Linked DNA regions of Homo sapiens: regions 2 and 3 are each linked to region 1. Evidence: promoter capture Hi-C in human tissues and cell types (Jung and others, 2019). All regions are on one chromosome and are shown on one strand. Each heading gives the region's core, a stretch centred on a gene start or on the middle of the fragment in contact. The rest is flanking DNA. Distances are from core to core; before and after follow the strand shown. Region 1 holds the start of LBX1 (ladybird homeobox 1). Region 2 overlaps BTRC (beta-transducin repeat containing E3 ubiquitin protein ligase). Region 3 overlaps BTRC (beta-transducin repeat containing E3 ubiquitin protein ligase).

The links. The method cuts DNA at HindIII sites, captures the fragments that hold promoters and counts their contacts. A contact is called where the count stands out against the background at its distance.
Region 2: a fragment that was not itself captured here is called in contact with the fragment with the promoter of LBX1 in region 1 in 2 of the 25 tissues and cell types used here (hippocampus and lymphoblastoid cells).
Region 3: a contact is called between a fragment that was not itself captured here and the fragment with the promoter of LBX1 in region 1, in 2 of the 25 tissues and cell types used here (hippocampus and liver).

Annotation. Positions count from the first base shown.
Region 1 is chr10:101,227,960-101,231,307 of GRCh38, reverse strand. LBX1 (ladybird homeobox 1) reads left to right here and starts at 1,845. Exons shown (of 2, transcript NM_006562.5): 1 at 1,845-2,817. The coding sequence starts at 2,493. It overlaps LBX1-AS1 (LBX1 antisense RNA 1), which reads right to left and starts at 1,714. Exons shown (of 3, transcript NR_029380.1): 1 at 1,494-1,714. The HindIII fragment of the contact is 30,882 bases long and covers 1-3,348 here.
Region 2 is chr10:101,422,432-101,425,779 of GRCh38, reverse strand. All of the region lies in intron 1 of BTRC (beta-transducin repeat containing E3 ubiquitin protein ligase), which reads right to left. Among named protein-coding and RNA genes, the nearest start is that of BTRC, 70 kb to the right of the region's middle. The HindIII fragment of the contact is 5,073 bases long and covers 1-3,348 here.
Region 3 is chr10:101,379,728-101,383,075 of GRCh38, reverse strand. All of the region lies in intron 1 of BTRC (beta-transducin repeat containing E3 ubiquitin protein ligase), which reads right to left. Among named protein-coding and RNA genes, the nearest start is that of BTRC, 27 kb to the right of the region's middle. The HindIII fragment of the contact is 7,585 bases long and covers 1-3,348 here.

The DNA of each region.
Region 1 (3,348 bases), core at 596-3,095:
CACTCGCTTACTGCCACCCCGAAAATGCAGGACAAAGATGAGTTAGAGGGTAGGGGTTCTTCCCAACATTCACAGAACTGGGGCACCAAACAAGAACCCTTTCTCCCTACACTGTCCTTTTTACCCCAGAGAGCTGCCAGCCACAATTCCAAACAAACAACTGAAGGTGAGATCATGAAACCTATCTCTGCTGTGCAGAGGCCCCCTACGCTGAGGCATCCAGAGAAAGAACCTGCTTCCCGCCCCGGAGCCCAGCTTAGCTCACTCCCTCTCTGGGGTTAGATATGAGGGGAGAGGGGGCAAGAAATCCTAATCTTCCCATTCCAACCCTTGGCCTGGGCCACAAATCCTCACTTTGGCCTCTCTGGGCCCTTTTCTGGTCCAAGCGGTGCTGCCCAATGCCCAACCTCACCGCCCACCCAGGAGTTTACAAACAAAGCCAGGGCCAGGGCTGTGTGTGTGTGGGAGGGGAACAGCCCTTCTCCCTGGACTCCAACCCCCTCTAGGTCCTCCCCTCCTTTCTCCAAGGGCAGAAATGGAAAATTAGTAAGGAGGCCAGTGGCCCCACATAAACAGAATGGGGTAGCAAGACAGGAAGGCCTGAGGGCACAGCCCTGCTGGAATGCCTCAGGGAAATGAAAGAAATAGCTGAGTTCAAACACACCTATATACCCACAGGTTCACACACATTTACACAAATATACGCATGGAGAAACACACACAAACACACATTCAAAAACACAAACACCTTCAAGTAACAATGCACACAACATGTTCTCCCGATATTCACAGATCCCGGGCCCTAAGGTCTTTAGCCCCAGCCTAACTGGAAGCCTGGCCTCCCTGCGAGTTCCTGAGAGCAAAGCCCCAGCCGCGGCCTGGCTCCCGCCGGGCCCCCGCCCCGCATCCGGAACAGCTGGAGTCGGCCTGGCCATGCACTCAAGCCGGGCGCTGGGCTAGGCGGGGCCGGCAGCGGGGCCCCGGCCGGGGCCCGGGCGGAGCGCAGCAGGGAGGCACGGAGCCGGCCCCGTTAGCCCCGGCACCTGGCCTGGCTACTCTTCAGACGCCCATCATCAGGCCGTTGGTGGCCCCAGCCAGCCTGGGGAGCGGCTGCCGGAGGAAAGTGAGCAAGATTGCCGGAGGAGGTAGGGCGGCCGCTTCGGAATCAGGCCGGGGAGAGGCGTCCAGAGCCGCCAACAATTCCCTCCTCCGCCTCTCCGCGTGGAGAAGGCTGAGCTCTCCGACTAGCCCCCTCCCCCAACCCCTGGGGTCCTCCACCCCCTTCCCGCGTCGCCCACCCAAGGCTGCGCAGCCGGCTCTGACCTCCTGCGGGCCAGCGCAGGAGGGCTTCAGATTCCCTCTCCCCAGGCGCGTCGCCCAGGCAGTGGGGTGAGGGGCAAGAGGGTCAGAGGTAGAGGCGCTGGGCTCTTGATCTCAGCTCCGCAAAGTCCACTCTGGGTGGCAGCGGGGCCCACCCGGGCTCCTGGTCCTACCTGGCCCGAGCGGCGGCCGCGTCCCTCCCGGGCTGGGGTTCCCACCACTCTTTCGGGCTCCACATCCCGGGTCGGAGAGACCGAGACCTTCGGGCCGGTGCGGTCATTGCAGCTAGGCCGGCGGGAGGCGGGTGCGCCAGGAGCGCGGCTCGCAGTTTGGGGTGGGGGCGGTGGCTTTTCAGTCGCCCGAGGTTCGGGTGCAATAAAGGAGCAGCTAATGTAATTTACAAACAGCTCGGGCCGAACGCAGCGCAGCGCCCGGACTGACAGGCGCATTAGGCAGGCTAATTCCAGCCGGCTCCTCCTACCCCCGGCCCGCTAATTAATGAGCTTCCCAACTTACAGCCGCCTGCATTGGACAGACAGAGAGTGAAAGAGAGGGCGAGGGAGAGGGAGAGAAGGAGAGAGAAGGGGGGAGCAGAGAAGAGAGAAGAGAGAGGGAGGGAGGGAGAGCGAGAACAGGAGGAGAGAACAGAGGCAAAGAAGAGAGGAAAAAGGGAGAAAGGAGAGAGAAAGAGAAAGAAGTGCCGCTGCAGATAATTGATTACACCGCGATCAAGGCTAACTTGTTAGCAATAGTCAATTGCCCCGTCTCTCCGCCTCCCTCGCAGTCCGGGATCGGCGCCCTCGCCTCGGCTCTTCCAACTGCGGCCGCCAGGACCCGGGGCCAGGAGCCACTGCCGAGCCACCTGACACCTTTAAATAGCACCGGGGTTGGCGAAACTGGAGCCCCGCGCAGCGCGCCCCGGCTCCGGCCCCGGATTGCTGGAAGCCCCAGCAGCAGCGGCGCCCGCGTCAGCGCCCTCTTCCCGGGGCCCCGCGCTGTTCTCCCCTCCTCAGCCGCCGCGCTAATCGGCCCCGCGCCCGGCCCGCGCCCTGCCCAGTGCGGCCTCCTTTCCACCCGCCGCTGCCTGCCCGCGCCGTCCGGCGCCCGAGCTGCCCGCGGGCTGGGTCCCCGCGGCCCGAGCCGCCCCGGCCGGGACCCCGAACAAGGCCGAGATGACTTCCAAGGAGGACGGCAAGGCGGCGCCGGGGGAGGAGCGGCGGCGCAGCCCGCTGGACCACCTGCCTCCGCCTGCCAACTCCAACAAGCCACTGACGCCGTTCAGCATCGAGGACATCCTCAACAAGCCGTCTGTGCGGAGAAGTTACTCGCTGTGCGGGGCGGCGCACCTGCTGGCCGCCGCGGACAAGCACGCGCAGGGCGGCTTGCCCCTGGCGGGCCGCGCGCTGCTCTCGCAGACCTCGCCGCTGTGCGCGCTGGAGGAGCTCGCCAGCAAGACGTTTAAGGGGCTGGAGGTCAGCGTTCTGCAGGCAGCCGAAGGTAGGCGCAGCTGCTGGGTTCCCCTGCACCCAGCGCCTCGCGCCCTGTGCCCTGCGCGCTTCGTCCCCTATGCCTCTGCTCGCCTCTGCCCTCTCCGGCCGCCAGGGCCTTCCAGCCTGAGCAGCTGCTTATGGGAGTGAAGATATGTGGGACGGGACCCAATCCTTATTTCCCAGGGACCTCTGGGTAGGCCAGAGCTGGGGGGTGGCAGGAGAAGGGTGGCCAAGCTCTTTCCGCAGTCTGCTTGCTTTGCCGGGCTCCCTTGCGTTCCCAGTGTCCTGGGCGCTCTTAGCCCGGCTACTCGGCGTGGGGAATCGAGAGTCTTTTGCCGGGGACCTTATGGGTAGGGTAGAGTTGAAGTGATTGGGAAGGGATGGAGAACCAACATTCACACCGCAATTAGGGTGTCTCTGTCTGGCTTTCTCATACCCTTAGAGACTTTGGGTCTTTCAAACCAACTCTTAGGTAGGGGGCAGAGACCAAAACAATTTTTCCTAGGGACTTCTGGGAGACCAAAGACAGGAGATGGTT
Region 2 (3,348 bases), core at 597-3,096, 190 kb before region 1:
GGAGTGCAGTGGCACGATCACAGCTCACTGCACCCTTGACCTCCTGGACTTAAGCAATCCTTCTGCCTCAGCCTGCCCAGTAGCTGGGACTACAGGCGTGCACCACCACGCCTGGCTAAAAAACATTTTTTTTAATTAAAAAAAAAAAAAAAAGCAGGTTTTAAACTAAGCAGCAACTACGCATTCTCCTGTTTAAATATTTACCTTCTGTTAACTGTTAAATAACTTGCAAATCACCTACTCCTTACATGCAGTCTCAAAAGCTATGACAAAGTTAACAGATAATGACTGCATCCTACACAAATCCAGCCCTGCACAGCACATATTAGTTTCTTCAGCTCAGTTCCCACCTAACGTCACCCCAATTGACTCTCCTTTGCAAAATCAAAGAAAGTTGAAGAGTATAACAATGTATTATAATTGTTGTTATCCAACTGAATGACTTCACTAGCCTTTAAAAAGCATACACAGCACAGAAAAAAATAAGACTGAACATGTTTTCTACTACCTGAATCAGAAAAAAAATTGAAATGCTGCAATGCGATAGTAAAGACACAGAATCAACCCAGGTACCCATCAACGGAAGACTGGATAAAGAAAATGCAGTACACATATACCATGGAATACTAAGTAGCCATAAAAAATAATGAAATCATGTCCTCTGCAGAACATGGATGCAGCTAGAAGCCATTATCCTAAGCGAACTAATGCAGAAACAGAAAACCAAATGCCACATTTTCTCACTTATACATAGGAACAAAACCTTGAGTACACATGGACATAAAGAAGGGAACAGACACTGAGGAATACAAAAGGTGGGAGGACAAAGGGGGTAAAGCTTGAAAAAACTACCTATGGGTACTTTGCACTCTCTACCTGGGTGAGATTCACTCAGACTCCAAACCTCAGCATCGTGCAGTATATCTCTGTAACAAACCTGCACATATACCCCAATTTTAAAATAAAAGTTGAAAAAACAAGATTGCAATGAAGGGCCTCCAGTGCTTCAAGAAGAATATAGTATCTAGTGCCCATCAGGTTCAATGGCACAATTCATTTACACAGAGAACACTGAAAATCTCAACTCTTCCCCCTACACTTGGCTGTCTGGAGTAATGTCACAGATCCTCTTCACTGATAGCCCTGCAGGCAAAGGGCTAGCCTCAGCATTTACTATACGAAAGCTGAATGACAAAATCTCCTAAATTAAGGTCCCTGTTGGTCAACTTCTAGGAGTAACAGAAGCTATAATAATCAACAATAAAAAGATTGCTGTACTGAGAGTTTACGTATCCTTAAGCCATGGAATAGAAGAATTCCCTTTTCACTACTATATCAACTAAGAAATTCAGAGAAATGCAGTATACCATAATCATGTAATACATTCAGACTTTACCTACAAATCCAATGATTGCCTCTTAAGAATCCCAATTTAGTTCACTCCAAAAACAAAACTCCCACCTGTCAGATAGGATAATCATATCTGCCCAGCCTTATTGCACAAGGTTGTGGTAAAACTAAAACAAGGATTCTTTTTTTTTCTTTGAGACAGAGTTTTACTTTTGTTGCCCAGGTTGGAGTGCAATGCCATGATCTCGGCTCACTGCAACCTCCGCCTCCCAGGTTCAAGTGATTTTCCTGACTAAGCCTCCTGAGTAGCTGGGACTGCCGGCATGCACCACCACGCCTGACTAATTTTTGTATTTTTGGTAGAGACAGGCAGGGTTTCTCCATGTTAGCCAGGCTGGTCTCGAACTCCTGAACTCAGGTGATCCACCTGCCTTGGCCTCCCAAAGTGCTGGGATTACAGGCACGAGCCACCTCACCCGGCTAAAATAAGGATTCTAAAAGCTGCAAAGTGCAAAAGAAAAAAATATAAATGGCATCATCACCAGGAATAGGCTTCTGTGAATGCCACTTGCATTTCAAACTGTTCTGGGAAGCCATTTATTTTTTCATTACCAAAGTGGGCACAGGTGGAGTACAAAAAGAGGATAAGTAAAGTTTACCGGGAATAAACTGTCTGCCAGGCATTGTACTAGATCCCTTAAGTACATTATTTCATTTAAGCATTACCTTCTTGTCAAAGAATTATTAGTACTTTTGCCTTAACAAGAGAGTACACTCAAGTTCAGTGAAGTTATAGTGCCTAAATGACAATGGCAGAAATAATACTCAAATGTGTTTGTCTCCACAAATCCACAGACTCAAGTAGTTTACACTCTATTTCAAGGAGATAAACTACTAACAAATAGTAACTACAAGAAAAAATTTAACAATGTACTAAATTGCATTAGACAACAGCTACTATAAGTTTAGGTAAATTTTCAAATATTTAGAAAAGCTCAGTCACAGACTTTAATTTTATTGTAGCACTTGTTACTATATGTATAACAAACTAACAAGCTGCATCTGTATAACATTCTCTGTATAACAAACTAACAAGCTTTGTTAGTTAGCTTTGTCAGTCTAACAATTCATTGTTTGGCAATGAATTGCGGAACAAGCTCTTCCCCAATTCATTCACCTGTATAATAAACTAGTAAGGTAAATAAGACCCAGAGAGGGTCAGGCAAGGTGGCTCATGTGTATAATCCCACCACTTTGGGAGGCCAAGGTGGGAGGACTGCTTGAGACCAGGAGTTCAAGACCAGCCTGGTCAACATAACTAGACCCCATCTCTATTTTTATGAAAAACTGGAAAATAAAAAAAATTTAACTTAATTAAAAAAAACTCATGGATAGGAAGAATCAATATCAATACCAATGACTTTCTTCACAGAATTGGAAAAAACTACTTTAAAGTTCATATGGAACCAAAAAAGAGCCCGCATTGCCAAGTCAATCCTAAGCCAAAAGAACAAAGCTGGAGGCATCATGCTACCTGACTTCAAACTATACTACAAGGCAACAGTAACCAAAACGGCATGGTACTGGTACCAAAACAGAGATATAGACCAATGGAACAGAACAGAGCCCTCAGAAATAATAACACACATCTACAACTATCTGATCTTTGACAAACCTGACAAAAACAAGAAATGGGGAAAGGATTCCCTATTTAATAAATGGTGCTGGGAAAACTGGCTAGCCATATATAGAAAGCTGAAACTGGATCTCTTCCTTACACCTTACACAAAAATTAATTCAAGGTGGAGTAAAGACTTAAATGTTAGACCTAAAACCATAAAAACCCTAGAAGAAAACCTAGGCAATACCATTCAGGACATAGGCATGGGCAAGGACTTCATGTCTAAAACACCAAAAGCCATAGCAACAAAAGCCAAAATTGACAAATGGGATCTAATTAAACTAAAGAGCTGCACAGCAAAAGAAACTACCATCAGA
Region 3 (3,348 bases), core at 425-2,924, 150 kb before region 1:
AAAAAAAAAAAAAAAAAATCTCCAGGGAAGGCCCAACAAGTCCTCCAGGGAATTCAGACATACTTTTTGTTACAAAAAGCCCTTAAAAACTTAACTCAATTCTCTAAGCAGCTTTAGTAGTGTGTTGCACTAAAGATAAAAGTTATCTTTATCTTTTTTACAATGTAAAAAGTACACTTTAATTGGTCTAAGTTCAAAAATGAAATAAAGAGGATAAAGCCCATGTAATGTCTTTCCAAAATAGGAAACACTCACCATTTCAAAATTGAGAAAGAAAAAAATTATTTAGAACTACCTAAAAATAAATAGGTTGATTTTACAACTACCACAGAAGAATCACCAATGGATGGTAAAACTACTGCGTGAAACAATGTTGTGAAATAAGATATTTACACAGTCTCCAAGTTTGCTCCTCTGAATACTTACAAATATACCTTTACAACAGAGAAATCTAGTGAATACAACCTTAATAAATGATCAAACAATATCTCCAATAATGGAACAAACTGACATTATATGCCTTCTGATGTAGTAGTGCACTAAGAAAAAAAAAACACAGCATATATTATACTCCTGCCAAATTTTTTACCCTGATCTAATCATGGAAAAACAATCAGACAAAAACAAATGAGGGACATTCTGTAAAACTACCTCAAACTCTTCAAAAATGTCAATTTCATGAATAAAAACCATTAGGGAACTACTGTAAATTAAAGGAAACTAAAGAGATATTATATATAACATGATTGGATCCTGGATTTTTTTTTAAAGAGCTGTAAAAGACATTCTTAGGGGCCGGACGCGGTGGCTCATGCCTGTAATCCCAGCACTTTGGGAGGCTGAGGCAGGTGGATCACCTGAGGTCGGGAGTTCGAGACCAGCCTGGCCAGCATGGTGAAACCCCATCTCTACTAAAAATACAAAAATTAACCGGGCGTGGTGGCAGGTGCCTGTAATAACAGCTACTCAGGAAGCTGAGGCAGAAGAATCACTTGAACCTGGGAGGCGAAGGTTGCAGTGAGCTGAGATCACGCCACTGCACTCCAGCCTAGGCAACAGAGCAAGACGCCATCTCAAAAAAAAAAAAAAAAAAAAAAAAAAAAAAAAAAAAAAGACATTCTTAGGATAACTAGGGGTTCTGGATATGAACTGTATATTAAATAATAAAAGGTTATCAGTGATCAGTGTTAAATTTCCTGAGTGGGATCTTGTATTGAGGTTAGGAATAAGGATGCTCTTGTTCTTAGAAAATACATGCAGAAGGTAAAATATCATGTCTGCAACTCTCAAATAATTTAGAAAGAAAGTATATACTAGGAAAAGTCAAATGTGGCAAAATGTTAACAATTAGATAATTCAGGTGAGGGATATATGAGTTATCATCGTGTGTTTCTCATAATTTTTCTGAGGAGTTGAAAAAAGAATGACACCATCAACACCTCTCTTCAAAATTATATTTCTCAAAAATAAGTCAAAAGATAACATCCCTCACCCACCAAAAAACTATAAAATACCTACTCTAAGGTGCATGCTAATTCTACAGTTCACATATAACTTCTATTTATGGTACACTGTGATGTCAAAGTGCTTTTATGTGTACTCTCTTACTGGATCTTCAACCCAGTAGATAGAACAGTTATTGTTATTCTCATTTTAGAGAAGAGGAAATTAAGGAACATGGTTAGTATAGCACAATGATTAACCACACTCACTCTGGAGCTAGAATGTCTGAGCTGGAATACCAGCTGTGCCATTCACAAACTGTTTGATCTGGAAAAAGTAACAACCTGTCTGTGCCTCAGTTTCCACATTTGTAAATCAGGATGATAATAATAATACACACCTAATAAGATGAGAGGATCAAATGAGTTAATATATATAGTGTCTAGAATCCTGCACGGTATATACTGAGCTACAAGTGTTGGCTGCCATTATTATTGTTATTATTATCACCACCCAAGAATAAGGTCAGAGAATAAGTAAAAATACAGTCATGCACCCCCTGACACTTCAGTCAAGTATGGTCAGATATGCAACAGTGGTCTCATAAAATTATAACACTGTATTTTTACCGTACCCTTTCTATGTTTAGATATACAAATACCATTGTGTTACAATGGCTTACAGGATTCAGTGTACAGTAACAAACTGCACAAGCAACAGGTTATATCACATGGCATTTGTGTATAGTAAGGTATACTATCTAGATTTGTCTATGTACACTCTGTGAAGCTCACACAACCACTTAATCACCTAACAATGTATTTCTCATAATGTATCACATATTGTTAAGCAATGCATGACTGTAGTTAAGACAGGACTTGAAACCAGTTCTTCTGACTCCAATTCTTGTGTAATTTCCACTATGCCAATAGTGGTTTCAATCACTTATACTTAGACAAGGAAATGGAAAAATAAGTGTCATTTCAAAAAGGATGTACATGTATGTACTTGACAGAATGCATGAACAAGAGAAGGAAGTTTGCTAATTAAAAGAGGTTCTTAATAGCCGCTGCCCTGTCTGGGAAGTGGGGAGTGCCTCTGCCCAGCCGCCCCACCGTCTGGGAAGTGAGGAGTACCTCTGCCCGGCTGCTGTGCAACCCTCCAAGTGTGAAGGCACAGCCTTGTGTGTGATCTTTCTGCCCTCCCCAAGTTTGCATTTTTGACATTAAAGTTTACTTTTTAATTAAAAAAAAAAAAGAGGTTGTTAAATCTAATTCATCTTTAAGAGACACATGATCTGGATGCTTACAGTCCTTTATAATTTCCAAAATATTTGCTCTATTTATAATAATTTCATTTACTCCTCATAACAGCTCTTTGAGGTACAAAAGTAGATATTATCTTTGCTTTCTATATGAGGAAAGTGAGACTCAAGGAGGTTAAGCAACATGCCCAATATCTATGACATCTAGGAAGCAGAACCTGAAAACCAGGTCTTGTTTTCACTATGGTACAACGTAAAATTTACCTACCAATCTAAACTAATTACAAGGTATTTCAAAGAAGACACACTAACAAAACAGGTAGAATTCTCGTATTGTCAGTTATAAACAAAAGAAGTTATAACTAGTCCATTCAGCAAACAGATGTCACTTTGCAAAGCTTTGATATTTTTCTTAAATACCTTTGAAAACAAGGATCAAAAAATATGAACTCTTATAAAAAGGGCTTTATTGTATTTTTATAGCTTATTACATACCTTGTAACAATCATTTTGTTAAATGTGAATGTCAGTTTTATTTTCTGTCCCTTTTTTCCTGGCTATTTACAAGCTTTGTAAGAATCGTTCCTTAATTAAGTCTAAACATAGTTTTATATAAATGGATTCCTGGAAATAAAACGTTC